Linked DNA regions of Homo sapiens: all the other regions are linked to region 2. The links are contacts of gene promoters, found by promoter capture Hi-C in blood cells and fetal thymus (Javierre and others, 2016). All regions are on one chromosome and are shown on one strand. Each heading gives the region's core, a stretch centred on a gene start or on the middle of the fragment in contact. The rest is flanking DNA. Distances are from core to core; before and after follow the strand shown.

Region 1 (3,180 bases), core at 351-2,850, 160 kb before region 2:
AGCTGAAGGAAAAATTTGATGGATTTGAGAATGCTACGAAAAATGCAAATTTTCTGCATGCCAAAACATTCTGCACACCCAGTTATAAGGCAAACAGAAAACTGGGAAAAAAATATTTACATGAAATATGTCATAGGGTCTATGAACTTCATACATACGAAATTCATTCAAATGCATATAAAAACACTAACATCCTAAGAGAAAAATAAAGTTAAGGAACAGGAAATTTATAGAAAAACAAATGACTGATAAATATGTAAATAATTTGTCACTATGATATTAATCAAAGAAATTCAAATAAAACCATAAGGTACTTAAAATTTTAGTTCAGCAATTTTTTGAAATGACAATGATAATTGTTGGCTGAAAAAGAATCCTCATACAATTGCTAGTAGCACCATCAATTTATACCTGTTTCTTCGAAAAGAGCTCAGTAATACAATCAATCATCAAAATTCGCAGATTCCATATTTGCTAATTCACTTACTCACAAAAATGTTACCCCAAAATCAGTACTTCTGGTGCTTTTGCAGTCATTTGTGAACATGCACAGAGTGGCAAAAAATGTGGGCCATTTGATGTGCACATTCCCAGCCAGGGTCAAACAAGGCGAGGCTCTGGCTTTTTATGTCAGCTTTTAGACTATAAATACATGTCCTGTTCATGGTCTAATTCATGTTTTACTCATCAGTAGAAGAGTTAAATAATGCCATCTTTATATCAGTCATCACGTTTCAAATAGAAAGTCAATTATTTCCAGTAATATCTGGAAGTTATTTTTGTTGAGGTGTTGAAGGTGAAACAATATCGTGCATGTTATTGTTAAGTTCTATTAAAAACTTCAACACTGAAGATACTGAAGATAAAGTAATTTGATATAGAAGTAATACAGAGACTTATTTTGGTGGAGCACACAGTTGTTGTAAAAGCAATGTTTTTACTAAATTAAGAAGCCGGTGGAACAAAAGTGTATTTGGAACTGGTTGTGGTCCAAACACAATTCAAACAAGCTGTGATATTTTCCCAATTGAAATAGAGACTGTCTTTGTCAACGTGTATCACTATTTTTATATACAATTTTAGAGTAACTGAATCAAAAAGCTTTGTGATAAAGCTGATGTCAAAAACAAAATAGGTTGGTGGTACACACATTTCCTCCAGCTTTTAGAATTACTTCATAAATCATCTTAAGCATCCTACAGTGGAATAGTTTCGTGAATGTATCTTCTAAACTTTCGTTTTGTGAATGTATCTTCTAAACTTTCGTTTTGTGGGTTTTTTTTTTTTTTTTTTTTTTTTTTGAGACAGAGTCTCGCTCTGTTGCCCAGACTGGAGTACAGTGGTGCAATCTCGGCTCACTGCAACTTCTGCCTCCTGGGTTCAAGCAATTCTTGTGTCTCAGCCTCCCAAGTAGCTGACTACAGGTGCACACCACCTTGCCCAAGTAATTTTTTGTATTTTAGTAGAGATGGGGTTTCACCATGTTGCCCAGGCTGGTCTCGAACTCCTGAACTCAGGCAATCCACCCGCCTCGGCCTTCCAAAGTGCTAGGATTACAGACGTGAGCCACTGTGCCCAGCAGTAATTTGTTTAATATTTAGTGTATCAGACCAAATAATGGCTGTCAAAGATATATAAGTCGTAACTCCTAAAAATTGTGAACGTTACTTTATATGGCCAAAAAGGGCTTCACAGATGTGATTAAGGATCTTGAGACTGGGCAATTGTCCTATATTATCCTAGTGGACCCTAAATGCCATCACATGTGTCCTTGTTCTTATAAGGGAGACAGAGGAAAATCTGACACAAGCAGAAGAGGAGGAGGCAATGTGACCATGAGATCAGAGACTGGAGTGATATACCCATGGGTGAAGGACTGCCGCAAGCACCAGCCCTGTGCAACTGATTTCAGCCTTTTGGCCTCCGGGACTGTGAGATAATAAATTTCTGTTGTTTTAAGCCATCAAATTTGTGGTGATGTGTATGGTAGCCACAGGAAACTAATACAGTTGGAAATCTTTAATCTAGGTATTTAACAAGTGTAGCACCAAAATTTCAGGGTTTTTTGTCTCTTAAATTTCAATTGCAATGATTGAGAAAAAGCTTGCCAACAGGAAGACATTGAAATCTGTCTCAACAAAAACAAGAACCGAACAAAGTAAATGGTGAGAGGTCAAATCATGCATGAGATTTAACTTGAAAAATCTCCACATTTGAGAAAAATTATTTGATGAAATTCTGACTTACAATGTTGTGCAAATTTGTATTCTCTATTGGAATAGAATCACTTGAGAAGCCTTACAATTTTGCAGCATTTCAATATGGCAAATTAACCGTAAATAGGAACACTTTATTTAACAAGTTCTGGGTTTTTTTTTTTTTTTTTTTTTTAGTCATCAAATTAAGTTAGTCTGAGTGGAAGCAAAAAGAAAATATTAAGTTATTAATACATTTCAGTACAAAAAATGGTATTGAAAGTATCTTTCATTTAGTAGAATTTTCTCTGAGGTTTTCCGGTACATCAGCAACTGTAGAGAGACTAATTGCCCAATTAAAAATATTGTAGTCTACAGAGGAGTTCACTGAAAATATCAACATTTTACATTTATTAACCATAAAGGCAACTTAAAGAAGATTGTAGGCAGTTTTATGGAAGAAGTGAAAATATTAAGACCCTACTGGAGAGAAAACTGGTGTTTTTTGTTGTTAGAGACAAGGTCTCCCTCTGTCACCCAGGTTGGAGTGCAGTGACATGATCATAGCTCACTGCAGCCTCCAACTCCTGGGCTCAAGCAACCCTCCCACCTCAACCTGGAGATAATTATTTTTGAAATTAGCTTTTGAGTAGCACTATTTAGAGCACCACTAATGTGATAAAACCAATTTTTTGGTCAGTAAGTTTCAAAAATTATACAACTTGAATTATTTTATTCTTTTTTATTCTTCAAAGGCTTCAAGGTTGGATGATAAATTATATCGTTAAGTAATATAATTCTTGAAGAATTATATAGTCTCTTCTTGAAGAAAAAAAAAATGGCCTAATCCCATTTTACCTGTTTCACCCTCTTAAAATCAATTTAGCATTTAGCAATTTTGCCCACTGTCTCCAGGGAATTAGAAAGCTAACTGGGGCAGGCATTGTGCTGGGTACTTTAGATATACATAGGAACTTAGGAATAT
Region 2 (3,183 bases), core at 44-2,543:
GCATTAGAATTGTAGGAAGAGTGGTTCTCCAGACATCACTGTACAGTGGTTTGAAAGCTTTAAAGGAAAAAGGAGGAGAAACAAATGGGGTTGGGGGATTTTTCTTTAAATAAAATCTTACTGCGCTCTCCTAACAGATAGTTAGAGGTGGACACCAAGAAGACAGTACTGGAATTGGAGGTGCTCTGAAATGCCATCTGCTTCATCTCTGAATGCAAGTTCTTGAAGAATGTTTTAAAAGATGGACTACCAAGGGGTAGGAAATTTATCTAACTCACCTAAGCCATAGGAAGTTAACTAATTGTTGAGAAACATTAAACAACTTCTCCTTCCCATAAAAAGTTGAAAATTGGAAAACCGGAGTCAATAGCATTTGGACTAAGTCGGATTGGAGATTGCAATGACTGGGAAGGAGATGTGCAGAAAGGCCTCTTCTAATTCATCTGACCTCTTACCTTGAAAAGCTGTCCTCATAATCAGAAGCCACTCCTTCCTTATCCTTGGCTCACTTTATTATTTCAATCGAAGGACAATGCACAAAGGAAGAAGAGCATTTGTATTCCCTATGACCTCTAAAAATGTTTGTGGTAGAAATGACAGGTGCTGAAATACATTTCATCTTTAGAAGTTCGAATTTCCATATCCAGTACAGTGGCAAGAATAAGTGTGAATATTACTTTTTTTTTTTTTTGAGAGGAAGTCTCACTCTGTCACCCAGGTTGGAGTGCAGTGGTGTGATCTCAACTCACTGTAACCTCTGACTCCCAGGTTCAAGTGATTCTCTTGCCTCAGCCTCCTGAGTAGCTGAGATCACAGGTGCCCGCCACCACATCCAGCTAATTTTTGTATTTTTAGTAGAGACGGGGGTTTCACCATGTTGGCCAGGCTGGTCTTGAACTCCTGACCTCAGGTGGTCCACCCACCTCGGCCTCCCAAAGTGCTGGGATTACAAGAATGAGCCGCCGTGCCTGGCCAAACTTTACTTTCCGCGGTATTGTGAGGAAGGCAAAAGGTTTGAGGTGAGAAGAGATACACGAGGGAGAAAGTATTACCCAGTTTTCTTACTTGTTATTTACTCATTCCTTTTCCCTCTCAAGCAGTATACACAACACACACATGTGCACGCGCACACACACACACAGTCTGTGGGGAAAAAAATATCTCAATCTCCTCCTTATGAAGGAAGTAGGATGTTACAGAGATATTATGATGCAATGAGGACCCTATGAAGGACACTGATGACATTGTGAGGTCAGGATTTTTACTGAAATGTTTGTCTGTATGAAATGCATCAGACCTAAATCAGCTTTCCTCCCTGCTAACATCCTAGTGGCAACTCTTACTCCTACCCGCACTATGGGATTTTAAGATCAAAGGAATTAGACCTAGGGCAAAAACTGAGACAGCAGGGAGGCACTGTAACAACTGGAAAGTTTTCCAAATTGGTAAACTTGCAGTATTCTTTCTGTACAGAAGTAAAAGATCCCCTATGTCCCTATGGATATCAGGAAGGAAAAGCGTCTCAACATGGCACTTCAGATGAGCAATTTCAAAAAGGCTTTGAACAGGTTTGAAAAATTGGTTGAACAAACAGCAGCCCAGAAAAGAGATGAAAGAGCAGGCTTATTTATCCATAAAGAAGGTAAGATCAGTGATTACACGATAGTCCAATTGGGTCTGTTGGTTAGAACTGGAAAATGTTTTAAGCCATCAGAGAGAAGCATCAGAGCTTAATGTGAAAGAATGGGTGCTGAAAGGGGATGAAGACCTCAGTTCTTGTTCTTTCTCTGTCCCTAAATAACAAAGCGGACATGAGGAAGCTTTTGTTTTGTTTTGTTTTTGTTTTTGTTTTTTTTTTTTACTTCTCTGAACCGAAGTTGCTTCAATTGTAAAACTATGGGATTGGATTAAATGACGTCCAGTGTTCTTCTGTAGACGCTGCCATTTGATGGCTCACTGGTTGACCTGGGATGCTCAGTAATGTATAGCACTGCTTTTTCTTAGCCTAAAGATATCATGAGACCATAAAGACTTTCATAAGAAGTGCAGCTTCCTGCCTCACCATGATTCCATTGTCTTGGCCACTCTCCATATCTCTAGGCAGGAATGATCTTGAGGATGCAAGCTAAGGAGAATATGGTGGACAGTGGTCTTACAGGAGGATTTGCAGCAGAGATGCCAGTGCATAGACAAGATTCAAGGGGAGTGGTGTAGTGTACAGCTTTGGCGTATTGAGGACAGCTGTGAAAAATAAAGCTACATGGCAGAGTGAAAGACTAACAGAACAAACCCTGCTGTTGCAATGAAAGGAGCAGAGCCCATATAATTGCTAAAGGGATAGTATAGCCAGCCTCTGAGTGTGCCAGGCTGCATAGTAATTTGTAAGTGAAAATCTTGACTTTGGGTGTTCAAACCCAAGCTGGTATTAATTGAATAGTATTTAATAATTTATAGTCATGTTAATCAATGTCATTATGTTCATTTTATTTGTGGAAAAAATGGGAGCTGAAGATAAATCATTTGCCCAAGTTACCCAAATTCTTTTCTTTTCTTTTCTTTTTTTTTTTTTTTCTGAGACGGAGTTTCATTCCTATTGCCCAGGCTGGAGTGAAATGGTGCGATCTCGGCTCTCTGCAACCTCTGCCTCCCAGGTTCAAGTGATTCTCCTGCCTCAGCCTCCCAAGTAGCTGGGATTACAGGCACCCACCACCACACCCGGCTAATTTTTTGTATTTTTAGTAGAGACGGGGTTTCACCATGTTGGCCAGGCTGGTCTTGAACTCTTGACCTCAGGTGATCCACCTGCCATGGCCTCCCAAAGTGCTGGGATTACAGGTGTGAGCCACCGTGCCCGGCCAAAGTCACCCAACTTCTAAGTGTTAAAGCTAAGACTTGGACCTTTTGGATATGCTTTTTCGGTGATTGGGAACTTGACTGGGCCTTCTAAACTACTCAACAAAACTTGCATTTTTTCCTAGTCAGTTTGTTTTACCTCTCTCTAATTGGTTTTTCAAACCCTTGACACTTTTTCTGAATTCTCTATGGGATGTCTGCTTCTCTCAGCCAAGTTTTCTACGTCATAAAAGAAAGCAAGGTCAAAAGACAAGAATTCTCTCAAACCCCCCTTTTCCACTTCTGAATCACTGAAAGCAGCAGCTGTCCTTTCTATTTCTCCTCCCCTTC
Region 3 (2,955 bases), core at 152-2,651, 230 kb after region 2:
TATTTAATTTTTTTTTTAATTTCAGAAGCGGTGTATGCTTACAACTAGAAAATGAGAAATACAAGCAGAATTAAAAATCAAAATACCTGTAGTCTCATTTATATAAAAATGTCTACTTTAAAACTTTATGCTTGACTGTAGGTGTTTAAGTTGTGAAACTTATTTTCTCTTGCAGTGTATATGAAAGATCACTTTCCAAGTACTTTTAGTCATTAATGTAATGACTTTATAATATGCAGTTGTATAGGTTTGGTCAATCCCCTTATTTTTGTCATTTACCCTAAATTTTTTTGCTCTAGCAAATAATACTGCAACCAAGATCTTGTGGATAAATATTTGAGGACATGTTCTTGATTAGTTTGTAAGGATGAATTGCATGGAGTGGTATTACTGGTCCCAAGGCATGTATGATTTAACATTGATACATACTGCCAAAAGGCCTTCTAGAAACTGTGTACCCATGATAAACTAGGTTTGTTGAATCAAAATATATAAATATTTGTGTTACTACATAGTAAAGCATATTTTATATATTAAGCACGAATTAAAGCATATTTTATATATTAAATGTTCTTGTTCATCAGTATAAAAACACCATTTCCTAACTTAAAAGATGGATAAAGGTCATAAACAGGTCACAAAAGGAAAAGTACCAATGGTTGATTAATATGTGTTTAACCTCATTTGTTTAACCGTATGTTTAACCTCATTAGTAATCAAGTAGTGCAAATTAAAATAATAAAATAGTTTCTTGCCTCTTCATATTTCAAAAAAATGTTTTTAATTATACTCATTTTTTATGAGAGTATAGTGAGATAATCACATGTTTTAAAAAGTAAGTATTGGTCTGCCATTTCTAGAAAAAAATTTGAAAGAGTTCAAATAATTTAAACCAGTAAGTGCATTCTAGAACTTTAGCCTAAGGAAACATTGAGAATTTAAATACAAGAATACTTAATACTGCATTGGTTATAATAGTGAAAAATTGGAAATAACCTAAATAACAATAAGGGAGTGAGTTATTAAATAATCATTGGTTTTAGCTCTTACTGGTAGAAATATAGGTGAATTTTTTTCTGTTCTTTTTCTTGTGTTTTTCTACCATGAGCATATATTATGTTTCTAGTAGCATAAAAACTTCTTACTTTTTAAAATTTTAATAAATGGCCCTGGCTATCCATTTGAAAGAAGATGTAGTCTCACACAATATAAATGTAAATTCTACTGTAGTCAATATGGGTTGCTATAACAGAATACCAGAAACTGGATTTGCTTAAATGATAAATATTTATTTCTCACAGTTCTAGAGGCTGGGAAGTCCAAGGTCTGAGTGAGAGCCCACTTCCTGGTTTGCAGACAGATGCCTTCTCGCTGTGTCCTTACATGGTAGAGGGAGAGAATATCTCTTTTGTACCTCTTCTTAAGGGCACTAATCTCATTCATGAGGGCTCTACTCTCATGATCTAATCACCTCTCAAAAATCCCACCATCACATTAGGAGTTAAGGGGTTAGGACTTCAATATGAATGTGAGGGAGACACAACATTCAGTCCACAGCAAATTCCAGTACATTAAAGATACAAATATGAAATATGTAAATATGAGATTATTTTTTAAATTTTTGAGCAAGAAGTTTTTTGCAATCATATCTACTAACTTGAAAAGACATTCATTATTAGTGAAAAGGAAAAATATGTTATTAACAATATGTATAGTGTTTTTGTTTAAATACTTTAAAATATTCATGTACACATTTGCATGTTTGTGGCATCCTATTAAGAAGTCTGGAAAGATACATGCAGAATTATTTACAATGATGGATAGAACTGGAGATGTAGAAAGTACTTTTCCTGAAGGAGTTATGTCTAGATAGTAAACCATCATATTATTATTATTATTCTCAGACATTTGCATTGTCAGGGATTTAACTACCACTTCTGTTTTGGTGACCCTTCAGGTGAGCTCTCCCTGATACCCATCTTTAATACCTAAAATCAAACTCGTGTCTTTTACCTCTATTTCTTCTCGGAACGTTTTTTGTTTTATCTATTAAATAAAATTATATTATCTGCCACTTAGTTTCAAAATCCTAAGGTTGTCCTTTTTCTTGATAACTGTCAGTTTGATCCTTCTACAGCAGTTAGAGAAAAACAACCAAACATCGATACCTCTCCAAATTCTAACGTTTATTTCTTTGCCTTCTTTTTTCTCCCTCACTTTTTCCCCATCACAACACATATTTAAGGATTTCATCTTTACTGTGTGAACCTTTATTTTGTTTTAACTTTTTCATTCTTCCTACACACACTGCCAGATTCATATTGTAAACCTTTTTTAATATACCTCATTCTTACTATCTTAAGAAACAATAACAAAACTTCATTGTCTCCATTCTGTCCACAGGGTAAAAATCAACCCTTAGTAGAAACAGCCTAAATGTCAATAGAGGTTTGTTTAAGTAAGTTATGGCATATATATACAATGCAAGAACAGGCAACCTATTCAAAATAAAATTCTATTTCCTGTGAACTGAAAAAAATCTCTAAGTTACATCATTAAGAGGAATCAAGATATATTAAGTGAGAAAAATGAAGTGCACAACAATGTGTACTATGCTGCCTGTGTGTGTGTGTGTGTGTGTGTGTGTGTGCACGTGCACGTAAGTCAGTGGATGCATAGGAAGCTGGGAGCAGCAATTGCCTCTGGAAAGGGAGGCAGCGAGAGACATTCATTTTGCTCTCTGTTCCTTTACAAAAGAGAGAACTTTTAAATTTTATGCCAGGTTTACATATTACCTGTTAAAATAATTTATGATGACTTCTGTAATAGACTTTTATAAATAGCACATTTTTACCATTGCTCATGGGTTATTTTGTTCTTATGTATAAAGAATAGTTTGGCCGTGTGTGGTGGCTCATGCCTGTAATCCCAGCGCTTTGGGAGGCTGAGGCGAGC
Region 4 (3,111 bases), core at 450-2,949, 130 kb after region 2:
CCGGTTTGAAGTCCAGGGTGAATGTAGTGGCTTGGATTAGAGGAGTGGTAACAGCCTGGAAATAAGTGGTTTAGATTTGATGATAGCTATCCAGAAGGCAAAATCAAGAAGACGTGAACTTTAACTCAAAGGGGAGGTAAGTGATAAATGTCAAGAATGACACCTGGTTTATGCAACTAGGTGAATGTTAGAACCACTCATTAAGATACAGGGCTCTAAAAGAGGAAAATGTTTAGAATGTGGAAGGATAAAGAGCTTTAGAACGTTGAATTCAAGATGAATCTTTGGGAGTAAGGTCCTATTTGGAGGCAAAAGGTCAGAGTTACTTCCTCTGTAAGAAAGGACATCTGGGCTGGGTGTGGTGGCTCACGCCTGTAATCCCAGCACTTTGGGAGGCCGAGGCGGGTGGATCACGAGGTCAGGAGTTGGAGACCAGCCTAACCAACATGGTGAAACCCTGTCTCTACTGCGAATACAAAAATTAGCCGGGCGTGGTGGCATGAGCCTGTAATCCCAGCTACTTGGGAGGCTGAGGCAAAAGAATCACTTGAACCTGGGAGGCGGAGATTGTAGTGAGCCGAGATCACGCCACTGCACTCCAGCCTGGGCGACAGAGTGAGACTCTGTCTGAAAAAAAAAAAAAAAAAAAAAAAGAAAGGACATCTGCTGTTTTATTTGCAGGAAAGAGTAAGAACATTAAATGTCATTATTATAGATGTTTTTAACAACTCAGTCCCTTGGTCTCTGCTCCAGCTTATTTTCAGCTACCTATGAGCAGAAGTGTTCATTTGAGTTTGTAACACACACACAGACGCACACACATGGCACAACCACATATGTACATGCCACTGTTGTTGTAAGGTATTCCTTGCTTGTCTTGGTCTGTTCAGGCAGCTGTAACAAAATACCTTAGACTGGGTAATTTATAAACAACAGAAATTTATTGCTCACTGTTCTGAAGTCTGGGATGTGCAAGATCAAGGCGCTGGCAGATTCAGCGTCTACTGAGGTCTTGCTCTCTGCTTCATAAATGATGCCCTCTAGCTGTGTCCTTACATGGTGAAAGAGGCAAACAAGCTCCCTCGGGCCTCTTTTTAAAAGACACTAATTCCATTCATGAAGACTGAGCCCTTGTGACCTAAGCATGTCCCATTTCACATCAATATCACCACTTCGGGGATTAAGTTTCAACATATGAATTTGGCAGGTGGACAAAAACATTCACGCCATAGCACTGCTCACTCCAGTTATCCTTGGCATGGAGAAATTAATTTTATGATTTCTTACAGTGAAAATCTCCCTAGATACTCAGTTCAAAGTGCTTACATCTATTAATAGCTACCTCAGAACACAACTGTCTTCATAACCAAGCCATGTCCCTTTGCTAATACTCACTGCCACTCTCTAAAGAGTTAGGCAGTTTCAACGTTCTAAATCTTGCTTGTCAAAAAGATGAGATTTTTAAATATGAAACAAACATAATTGAGGCTGAACTCTGGGATGCAGGACAGGTGATCAGTCTGTAGACAGAAGTTCAGGGAGGCAAAGTGGGGCTCAAGGTAGCTAAGGTTCTGTATCTGAGGCCCAGGAAATCAAGCTGGGAAGCAGGATTAGTTATTTGGGAGAGCTCCATGCATAGCAGGAAACAAGGAGACTACAGTCTCTTCAGTCCTGCCTAAAGCAGAATAAATTTAGAATTGTTCCGAAGTTAGCCCCTCACCCTTCTAAATTTTACTATTAAAGGGCTGGTCTATTTCTCTTTGGTAAAGGTTCTGGCCAGGCCATGACATTTTTATAATGCTGGAGAATTAATACATGGAAGGGATAGAAGATGCTCATGTTAATTCCCCAGGACACTGTCAAGTGGGAGAAGTCCCAAATAGATACCTCTGTTTCTGCCTCCTTCTCAACATCTACCTCTCTGAGGTGGGAGGCTATTCAGACTTTGCAGAATCTACTCTTAGTTTCTTTAGCTTGCTTGCCCTCCTCCTTTTAGGTCATTGCTGCAGGGCTCATGATGATGATTGCCATCATTTGCCACTCTGAGGTTGAAATCAATAAATAAAAGGAAGATCTTCCAAATACTATTTTATGTTCCCATATGGCCTAGGGCACACACTCCTGCTAATAATACTCTGTATTACTTTAAACCACATGGGCTATTTAGAGGGACCTCTTGGAGTGAAGTGATAGTGAAACAAGGCATATGGATAACGAGTCCCTTCTCTTGCCATCCTCTTTCAGAACTCAGTTGTAAAAATTAGCAGGGTATTTGCACAATAGTAGCAGCTGTGGATGGAGGTTGAGGAGAATTTGATAATAGTAAAAGCAGCATGAGATCCCTCCTCCCTTAAGTTTGGTTGATGCTGATTTGAAAAGTAGCCAGCTGAGATACAGCCCATTCTAAGGCCTAATTCAATGAATACACTGTTAGTTAACAAGTGTTCTGATTAGCTTGAACGGGCAGTGTTATTTTCCCAAAAGAAAATAGAAAGAAAGCAAATGTGGTATACACACAACATGGAATACTAAGCAGCCATAAAAAAGAACAAGATCATGTCTCTTGCAGGGACATGGATGGAGCTAGAGGCCATTACCCTTAGCAACCAAATGCAGTTTTATTATCCTGAAATAACACTGCCCATTTGTTTTCTGGCTTTGACAAATGGGTGTCATAAGTACAGATTCAAACTAATATTTCCCAAAAAGTTTGCAGACTACAGTCTAACTGATAAAAATGTTGGCTGGAGGCCAGGCACGGTGGCTCACACCTGTAATCCCAGCACTTTGGGAGCCCGAGGCGGGTGGATCACGAGGTCAGGAGATTGAGACCATCCTGGCTAACACGGTGAAACCCCATCTCTACTAAAAATACAAAAAAAAAAAAAAAAGTAGCTGGGCATGGTGGTGGACGCCTGTAGTCCCAGCTACTCGGGAGGCTGAGGCAGGAGAATGGCATGAACCCAGGAGGCGGAGCTTGCAGTGAGCCGAGATGGCACCACTGCACTACAGCCTGGGCGACAGAGCGAGACTCCTCAAAAAAAAAAAAAAAAAATGTTGGCCGGACATGGTGGCTCATGCCTATAATCCCAGCAGTTTGGGAGGCCAAGG
Region 5 (3,192 bases), core at 647-3,146, 170 kb after region 2:
CCAACCTGAGTAACAGAGACTTTGTCTCAAAATAAATAATAAATAAAAATAAAAATAAAAATAAAATTTACTCTTATGTGTATGCTGATACCTTCCTAGGAAAGAATCACTACCTCTCTATCAGAGTTTAAATGAAAAGAACCATTACTAGCTGAATGGGAAAGGCAAAAATGGAGCTACATCTTAGGCCTCCTAAATTTGCATTCAGTTCACTCAATCTTCACTGTAGCCACTTCTGGATCATCAAAGTCCACAGTACGGCTGAAGACCCTTAGCAAGGCAGGGCCTGTAATGTGATGCGGTAAGTGGGGATAGGCCTGGTGGCCCTTTTGTTTGCTTATTGGCCTAGCCTCAAAAATAAGACAAGGATTGGATGTCTTGGGGCTAATGGCTGGTTCTAAAGGCAAAACAGCCCTTCCAGGACAGTTGGGAAATAACAGTCCTTCCTCCCCTTAACACTGTATAGTGTATCAGGAAGCCACTCACCCAGGTGAAAGAGGGTCTAGGGCATTCCAGGAATGGAGAGGCCAGCGGATCTGTGAGAGACATTTTTTAATGCTACACACCCAGTGTCACTCAAATTGTCTCCCACCCTAGCCCCAGGGAGTCATGCTCCCTCAGTTCCTCCTTACAGTTGCTGGGTAAAGGAGGCTGCATGGATTCTGAAAAGCAAGTCAAGAGGAAGAGCTGCTGACCTAAAAGTACTGTAGAAAACTGAGAGCAAAGGCTAAATGAAAGGATGGCAGCATTTAACACAGATAGAAAAGGATACTTCCTGCCTTTTTCCTGGCTCAAACTATGACTTCGACATGAAGTTTTGGACTGAGTGAGTCTGCCCGGAAGCACGCCATCAGAGGACACGTCAAGAAGCCAGTGAAAGAGAAGTGATGGCCCAGCGCGGGAGAAAGCAGTCACATATTCACATGTACTTTTCTCCTCTTTACTGAGGCGACAGTAAACCAGTGGCACCAGGAGCTGGGATTTGAGGGGCTGGAACTAGGTTGTGACCGGCCTGAAGAAGCAAAAGTCAGGAAAGCTTAGAAGGTCAAGTCCAAGCCACTGTCCCTTCAAGAGGGTGAGAATCCAGCTCAGGGAAGATAAATACCAGCAAGGGGTAGAGGCACTCCTGGAGCCACAGCTCAAAGATGGAGGGAGAGGGCAAAACAAGGCAGGACCAAACAAGAATGAGGCAGGGTGACAGCTAGAAAATAGCCCACCTCCCTTTCCAAGCAAACAAACCACACAAGGCTTCTATGCCCAGTGAAACTTCAAGATGAAGGGAAGGGACAGGAGGTGGGGATGTGGGAGAGGGGTAAGGACCTAGGATCAGCCACAGGGTATAAAGCCAACAGATACCCAGGAATCCATGACAATTCAAATCAAACATCACATTCAAAGGTTGCATTGAGATGATGTATGAGGTTTGCTTCGAAATAATGGAAGGAGAACCCACAGTGTATATATTAAACAAAACTAGACCTTTAACTTCAAACACTGGTATAAAAAGCTATTTTTTAGCCAGGCATGGTGGCAGGCGCCTGTAATCCCAGCTACATGGGAGGCTGAGGCAGGAGAATTGCTTGAACATGGGAGGCGGAGGTTGCAGTAAGCCAAGATCGTGCCATTGCACTCCAGCCTGGGTGACAAGAGCAAGACTGTCTCAAAAAAAAAAAAAAAAAAAAAGCTATTTTTTTAGAAAAAATTCAGAACACTTCCTTCTAAATGGAGATGACAATGGCTAGAAATTGAAAATGATATTCATGAAACATACCAGTTAGCACGGTTAGTGAAGGAGGACACTTCTCATTCTGTAGCTCAAAATTTTCTCTCAATTTATATCTAAATAGAAGTAAGGGAATATTCAAGAAAGAGCGATGTGGTAGCAGAGCATCCTTTATGCAGTGTTTGAGAGCAAAATCAAATGATGTTTCTTTTCCAACATTAACATGTTTAAATAAAGGATAATTCTATCCTTAGACCCTAGGATCTCCTCTTTATAGCTTTTATTAGCAATATTTTATTTATATTATCTTACAACAGCCCTGGGGGATAAGCAGAGCAATACTACTATGCTCATTGTATTGAAGAAAATAAGGCCACATGAGATTGGAAGAACCTGGCCAAAATCCAATGGCCATAGTGAGTAAAAGAAAGTGAAACTCAGAACTTCAAACCCAGGTCTTCTGACTCCAAACCCAGGCCCTTTTCACTATCCTGGGCAACTTAGTCCCATCTCCTGGGTTTCCTCCAGTTGCCAGCTTGGTGTTTCACACTGCTAATCTGCCTGTTAGTCTTTGCAACCTTGACTTAACAAATGATTGAAATGTAGTCTTGTGGTATTCTGGTATTCCAGAATATGATGCTATTTTTAAAGAACCAAGTATTCTTTTGGTATTTTTCTTGATGTAGTGCCATTATTTTGGTATTTAAAAATCTAAACTCTGAATTATGTGCATTATGATATATATTCAGAGAGTTATATACCACATTTAAATTTCATATCAAATTAAGCTGCTTTTAAATAGAAAGCATTCTGACTACACCACTTCCCTTTTAAAACTTGTTCAAAATGTTATCTGGCATTAATTCCAGTTTCCTAAATGACTAGTAAGACTGAGTGTGTTAGTCCATTTTCTTTGTTATAAAGGAATACCTGAGACTAGGTGATTTATAAAGAAGAGAGGTTTATTTTGGCTCACAGTTTTGAAGACTATATAGGAAGAAGGGTGCCAGCATCTGCTTCTAGTGGGCCTCCGGAAGCTTCCAATCATGGTGGAAGGTGAAGGGAGAGCAGGCATATTAAATGCTGAGAGAGCAAGCGAGGGAGGGAGGTTCTGGGCTCTTTTAAACAATCAGGTCTCAGGTGAACTACCAGAGCAAGAACCCACTCATTACCATGGGGATGCCACCAAGCCACTCATGAAGGATCTGCCTCCGTGACCCAAACACTGAAGTCCCACCTCCAACACTGGGGATCACATTTCAACATAAGATTCAGAAGGGACAGCCAAACCATATCACTGAGCATTTGTGTTTTTTTTTTTTTTCTTTTGAGATGGAGTCTTGCTCTGTCATCCAGGTTGGAGTGCAGTGATGCGATCTCGGCTCACTGAAAACTCCGCCTCTGGATTCAAGTGATTCTCCTGCCTCAGCCTCCTGAGTAGCTGGGGTTACAGGCACCCACCGCTGCGC
Region 6 (3,263 bases), core at 165-2,664, 150 kb after region 2:
ATCATGTATTTGCTCATGACTCTGTGGGTCAGCAATGTGGGCTGGCTCCACCGGGGCATTTCTTCTGGTCTCACCTGGTGCCACTCACACAACTGCAGTGAGTGTCTAAATGGTCTAAGACGGCCTCCTTGTGTTTGATGCTGACTACTGGCTGGACTTCTCTTTCTGTGTGATCTCTCATCTCCAAAGAGCCAAGGGGCCAGATTACAGTCTGTAATTCCAGAACTTGGGGAGGCTGAGGTGGAAGGATCACTTGAGCGCAGAAGTTTGAGACCAGCCTAGGCAACATAGCAAAACTCTGTCTCTACAGTAAATACACAAATTAGCTGGGTGTGGTGGCACAGGCCTGTAGTTCCAGCTACTGGAGATGCTGAGGTGGAAAGATCACTTGGGCCTGGGGTGTCAAGGCTGCAGTGAGCTGAGATCGCACCGCTGCACACCAGCCTGAGTGAGGGAGCGAAATCCTGTCTCAAACACAAAACAAAACAAAACAAAAACACAAAGAGGCGAGACCACAATTCTTCACATAATGATCTGATGGTTTCAAGAAGGCAAAAACAGAAGCTACAAGATCTCTTGAAGCACTGAGTACAAAAGAAAAGATAGGTAAATTGAATTATATTACAGTTTAAAATTCCTGTTTACCAAAGAGAGACTATTAAGAAAGAAAAAAGGCAAGCTGTAGAATGGCAGAGATTTTCATTACCTGTAACTAAGAAAGGACTTATATCTAAAATATATAAAGAACTCCAACAAATCAATAAGAAAAATCAAGGCAATCCAGTAGGATAGGCAAAAAAAAAAAAAAAAAACCATGAACTAACACTTCAGAGAAGAGGTTATGCAAATAGTCAATACATATATTAAAAAATGCTCAACTTTCTTAATAGTAATCAAGGTAATGCTAATCAGAACCATATTAGATGAAAGATTCAACCAAAAACAAAAAATACCCTCCTGGGATTAATAATCAATTATACCCAAGGTTGTTGAATGCAAGATTAATACACAAAAGTCAATTGCTTCCCTATTTACCAGCAATGAACACGTGGAATTGAAATTAAAAACACAATACTTAGGCAAAAACCTAACAAAATATGTAGAAGAACTATATGAGGAAAACCCCAAAACTCTGATGAAAGAAATCAAGTAACTAAATAAAGGAGAAATATTCCATGTTCATGGGTAAGAAGATTCAATATCATCAAGATGTCAGTTTTTCCCAACTTGATCTAAAAATTCAATGCAATCCCAACCAAAACCCCAGAAAATTACTTTGGGGATATTGAGGAACTGATTCTAAAGCTAATATGGAGAAGCAAAAGACACAGAATAGCAAACACAATGTTGAAGAAGAAGAATAAAGTTGGGGGACTGATATCAAGACTTAGTATAAAGCTATCGTGATCAAGACAGTGTGGTACTGGCAACAGACATAAGAAATAGATCAATGGGACAGAATAGAGAGCCCAGCACCAGACCCACATAAATACAGTCAACTGATCTTTGACAAAGGAGCAAAGATAACACAATGGAGAAAAAGATACACTTCCACACATGCTGCTGGAACAACTGGACATCCACGTGCAAAAAATGAATTCAGAAGCAACCTTACATCCTTCCCAAAAATTAGCTCAAAATGGATTATAAGCCTAAATGTATGATGTAAAACTGTAAAACTCCTAGAAGGTAACATAGGAGAAATTTTAAATTTCCTTCAATTTGGTAATGATGTTTTAGATACAACACCAAAGACACAATCTATGAAATAAGGAATTGATAAAGTTCACCTCATAAATAGAGCCTCTCTCTCTCTTTTTTTTTTTTTTTTTTTTTGGAGACAGAGTCTTGCTGTGTCGCCTGGCTGGAGTGCAATTGCACAATCTCTGCTCACTGCAACCTCCACTTCCTAGGTTCAAGCAATTCTCGTGCCTCAGCCTCCTAAGTAGCTGGGACTACAGGCACATGCCACCACACCCTGCTACTTGTTTGCATTTTAGTAGAGACAGGGTTTCGCCATGTTGCCCAGGCTGGTCTCAAACTCCTGAGCTCAGGCAATCCGTCCACCTCAGCCTTCCAAAATGCTAAGATTATAGGCATAAGCCACCATGCCTGGCTTTGTAAACTGCACTTCATTAAGATTAAAATTATCTGCTCTGTAAGAGACACTGTCAAGAGAATGAAAAGACAAGACAAAGACTGGGAGAAAATGTTTGCAAAAGACACATCTGATAAAGAACTGTTATCTAATATATAAGAAGAACTATTAAAACTCTACAGTGCCAGGCATGGTGGCTCAGGCCTGTAATCCCAGCACTTTAGGAGGCCAAGATGGGTGGATCACTTAAGGCCAGAAGTTCCAGACCAGCCTGGCCAACATGGTGACCCCATCTCTACTAAAAATACAAAAATTATCAGTCATGGTGACACATGCCTGTAGTCCCAGCTACTCGGGAGGCTGAGGCAGGAGAACTGCTTGAACCTGGAAGACAGAGGTTGCAGTGACAGTGAGCCAAGATTGCACCGCTACACTCCAGCCTGGGCAACCGAGCAAGACTCTGCCTCAAAATAAATAAACATAAATAATAAAATTCGACAGTAGGCCAGGCGTGGTGGCTCACACCTGTAATCTCAGCACTTTGGGAGGCCAAGCTGGGCAGATTGCCTGAGGTCAGGCATTCGAATCCAGCCTGGCCAACATGGTGAAACCCCGTCTCTACTAAAAATACAAAAATTAGCGGGGCATGGTGGAGCGTCCCTGTAGTCCCAGCTACTTGGGAGGCTGAGGCAGGAGAATCACTTGAACGTAGGAGGTGAAAATTACAGTGGCAGTGAGCTGAGATCGCACCACTGCACTCCAGCCTGGATGACAGAGTGTGACTCTGTTTCAAAGCAAACAAACAAACAAAAAACCCAACAGTAAGAACACAAACAACTCAATTTTAAAATGAGCCAAAGACTTTAACAGACATCTCATCAAGGAAGATATACAGTTGGCAAACAAGCATATGAAAAGATGCTCAACATCCTATGTCATCAATGAAATACTAATTAAAACAATGAGAAACCACTATACATGTATTAGAAGGACCAAAATCCAGAACGAGGATACCACCAAATGCTGGTGGGGATGTGAAGCAACAAGAACTCTCATTCATTGCTGCTGGGAATGCAAAATGGCACAACCACTTTGGAAGACAGCTTGGCAGTTTTTTAAATAAAACTAAACATACTCTTACCATATGATACAGCAATTACACTTC
Region 7 (3,040 bases), core at 242-2,741, 190 kb after region 2:
TATTTATTTTCATTTTATTCTGTTGATCAAATTATTGGGTCAATGTGCAATGGCTCACTTAGACTAGTGCAGTCTTGGTTTAAGTCATTTCAGAGGTTACATTATGCTCCGCGGTCACCCCAATCAAATAAAGAGATGGGGAACTTTTTCTAAAGTCAGCAAATTAACAGCTAATACATTACACAGCCCAGATTTGAATTCAAGCAAGGTAGGCTAGACATTAAGCTCTTAACTGAGCTGGTATAAAAGGGATAATGGAAGCTATCTATGGAGATATACTGATAGATGTATATATAGATATACAAAAGACCAATGGAAAAACTGGCCACAGATGTTTGTTAAAAATACTTATTAGATTTTAAATGACGGAATTAAAGCATGTGTTTATCCTCTGCTTCTGAAAATAGAACTGCTGGCTGAGTAAGTCCCCTGGAGGCTGAAAGACCAATAAGTGGACAGAAATTCATTACTCTTTTATTCTGAGACCAGCTGCTTCATGCGGAATCTGGCACTTACCATACAAGGACCACTCTTAGCTTTATAATCAATGTGACGCCTTTGTTTAGCTGAGCCTCTCCATCTTGTATTTCTCCTCACTAAGCATTCTGTTGCTGGCTGTAATTCTCACTGTGTTGATGTATTGATGTCTATTTCATTGTTCCAGGTTATATTTCACTGAGTTTTCAATAGAAATGTCCCTTTTTGCTACCTAGTGAGTGGGTGTCCTTCAGCAGCTTACCACTTTGGAACTATTATTCTGATATCCCATTGCAAGTCACACTTTGTCATTAAAGTCAAAAGAGCAATATCCATTTCACTCCTATGACTAAGTCCCAAGTTCACCAAGAAAGTGGGTAGCATTCTCTGAACTTTTTGTATTTTTAATTTTTTTAAAAAAACAAAAGCAAAAAGTTGAAGCATGGAGATAAGCAAAAAGTTGAAGCATGGAGATAAGCAAATTCACTTGGGCCATGAGAAAGTCGTGGTAACACTGAAAATCATGAGAGAAGCAAGTGCTGCTCCAACGGTAAGAAGAGAAGCTTCCTCAGTCTGAACCACTGGGCCCAGGATGTATGACTTATTAAAGATCTCATACAAGAATGAAGAGTTAGCCTGGCTGTGATTGCAGAGGCCCTCTCCCACTCATTCACCTTGAGCTCACCTGGGAGTAGCTTTGAAGGCCAAGGTCAGAAAAATGTATCTTTGGATCCAAACATTCTCAGGATTGTGCCTATTGTCTTTTTGATTCCACAACTCCATGACAGCCTGCTACCAGCTGGAACTATGTATTCCTCCTCCTCTCTGGATCTTTGCTATTCACTGGGTACATTCTTCCCACTATGTGTCATAGTGAAGAATATAGCCATTTGGAGTCAGACAGATACTAGCTTGAATCACATCACATAACAGCTTTAGGTCTATGACACTATTACCTGCTTCTCTCTGCTTCCGCTTTTTTCTTCTGTAAATGAGGGTAGCAATAGTTATCTTCCAGAGCTATTACGAGGATTACATGAGGTAGCACATGCAAAACATGGTAGATTATAAAAAAAGTTGTTCCTTTTCTTTCTTTTTCCCAAATCATCCAAAGGGGATTTAGTCAATTGGTAACTCTGAAAATGTTAACATAATATCTATCTCTCCACAGATAAATACATATGCTAGCTATCCAAAGGTAAGTTAAAAGCAGATTCCACAGCCAAACTACACAGGGTTCAAATCCCTTTGTACTTCAGCTGTCGCACTTGTAAAATGGGGATAACAAATGTGCCATCCTCATAGCATCGTTAGGAGTGGTAAACAAATTAAGGATGTAAATATATACAACTAACCTGAAAAATACTAATTGTTCCCTAAGTATTATAATTCAAGACTCTAATAGTAACACTTATTATTTAGATAGATAGGTACTGTCGATGCTAATATATCAATCACCTCCAAGAAAGCTTTGCCAAAGACCTATGCCAGTTTCCCTAAAATGTATATTTTGGAGCCAGAGATAATATTTTTTAGAAGTGTCATTCTGCAAAAATGCATTTCATAGTTTTTTTTTTTTTTGGTGAAGGACAAAAACAGAGGCTATTTAAAATCGTTTTCCCTCTGCAGTAGGGAATGAGGACAGCATTTACTCTTTCTGCATTCTCTGTCCTAGATTATTCAAATAATACTCATCCTGATAACTTTGGAGTTGTTTAATTTCACTGTAAAACAGCTTTGAAAACAGCTATATTGCCCAAACATCTAAGTTCTAAAAACATCAGTGTCTCTTTTAGATCCAGGCTGTTAGCTAATTTCAATATTCATTTGTCTATTCAACCAGAAGTTTACTGGAGTTTACTATGTGCCAGACAATGTTATAGGAGATAGGTAAAAATCCCTGCTCTTATAGAGCTTTCATTATAGTGAGGTGAGAGATGCTCAATTAACAAATAGATAACTAGAATATGTAATTTGTCCAATTGTATGTATCATGGAGAAAAATAAATCAGGGAAAGGAAAATTAGGTATCCCAAAGTAGGGCTAGGAATTGCAATTTTAAATAGCATAATTGGAGAATATCTCACTGAGAAGAAACCTATGTGTATTACTGAGCGAAGTAAAGGACCAAGCTACGGGGCTATCTGTTGGAAGAGCATTCTGGGAAGAAGGAACAGCGTATGCAAAGCCCTAGAGGTGGGAGTGTACCTGGCATATTCAAAGAATGGCACGGAGGCTAGATGGCTAAAGTAGAGTGGGCAAGAGCAAGAAGAGTGGGAGTTGAAGTCACATGCACATGAAGTTACAAGAATGTTCACAGAAGCAGTAGTAATAGAATCTTGAAACCACTCAGATATCTATCAATAGTGGAATGAATAAATTATAATGTACTTACATAATGGAATTCTACATTGAAATACAAACAAAAAACAAACTATAGGTGCTCTCGATAATACAGATGAATCTCACAAACATGATGTTGAGTAAAAGAGGCCAAATGCTAAAGGATAAAAACTGCATCATTTCTTTTATATACATTTCACAAACGAGGCAACACTTGCAG

The links. Contacts are between HindIII fragments. The CHiCAGO score rates a contact against its expected background, and 5 or more counts as called.
Region 1: a fragment that was not itself captured here is called in contact with the fragment with the promoter of WDR64 in region 2 in 1 of 17 cell types (monocytes); the score reaches 5.0 in monocytes.
Region 3: a fragment that was not itself captured here is called in contact with the fragment with the promoter of WDR64 in region 2 in 5 of 17 cell types (fetal thymus, monocytes, total CD4 T cells and 2 more); the score reaches 8.9 in fetal thymus.
Region 4: a contact is called between a fragment that was not itself captured here and the fragment with the promoter of WDR64 in region 2, in 10 of 17 cell types (naive CD8 T cells, naive CD4 T cells, total CD8 T cells and 7 more). The highest score is 10.3, in naive CD8 T cells.
Region 5: a fragment that was not itself captured here is called in contact with the fragment with the promoter of WDR64 in region 2 in 13 of 17 cell types (naive CD8 T cells, M2 macrophages, total CD8 T cells and 10 more); the score reaches 13.0 in naive CD8 T cells.
Region 6: a fragment that was not itself captured here is called in contact with the fragment with the promoter of WDR64 in region 2 in 13 of 17 cell types (activated CD4 T cells, M2 macrophages, naive CD8 T cells and 10 more); the score reaches 13.0 in activated CD4 T cells.
Region 7: a contact is called between a fragment that was not itself captured here and the fragment with the promoter of WDR64 in region 2, in 16 of 17 cell types (fetal thymus, activated CD4 T cells, non-activated CD4 T cells and 13 more). The highest score is 22.9, in fetal thymus.

What each region holds. Positions count from the first base shown.
Region 1 is chr1:241,490,491-241,493,670 of GRCh38, forward strand. No RefSeq gene overlaps it. Among named protein-coding and RNA genes, the nearest start is that of FH, 28 kb to the right of the region's middle. The HindIII fragment of the contact is 1,002 bases long and covers 1,100-2,101 here.
Region 2 is chr1:241,650,988-241,654,170 of GRCh38, forward strand. WDR64 (WD repeat domain 64) reads left to right here and starts at 1,294. Exons shown (of 28, transcript NM_001367482.1): 1 at 1,294-1,642. The coding sequence starts at 1,498. The HindIII fragment of the contact is 1,763 bases long and covers 56-1,818 here.
Region 3 is chr1:241,882,028-241,884,982 of GRCh38, forward strand. The region is part of intron 14 of EXO1 (exonuclease 1); the gene reads left to right. Among named protein-coding and RNA genes, the nearest start is that of EXO1, 35 kb to the left of the region's middle. The HindIII fragment of the contact is 8,246 bases long and covers 1-2,955 here.
Region 4 is chr1:241,784,324-241,787,434 of GRCh38, forward strand. The region is part of intron 23 of WDR64 (WD repeat domain 64); the gene reads left to right. Among named protein-coding and RNA genes, the nearest start is that of EXO1, 62 kb to the right of the region's middle. The HindIII fragment of the contact is 5,686 bases long and covers 1-3,111 here.
Region 5 is chr1:241,823,591-241,826,782 of GRCh38, forward strand. No RefSeq gene overlaps it. Among named protein-coding and RNA genes, the nearest start is that of EXO1, 23 kb to the right of the region's middle. The HindIII fragment of the contact is 1,724 bases long and covers 1,035-2,758 here.
Region 6 is chr1:241,803,010-241,806,272 of GRCh38, forward strand. No RefSeq gene overlaps it. Among named protein-coding and RNA genes, the nearest start is that of EXO1, 44 kb to the right of the region's middle. The HindIII fragment of the contact is 8,352 bases long and covers 1-3,263 here.
Region 7 is chr1:241,841,385-241,844,424 of GRCh38, forward strand. No RefSeq gene overlaps it. Among named protein-coding and RNA genes, the nearest start is that of EXO1, 5.3 kb to the right of the region's middle. The HindIII fragment of the contact is 906 bases long and covers 1,039-1,944 here.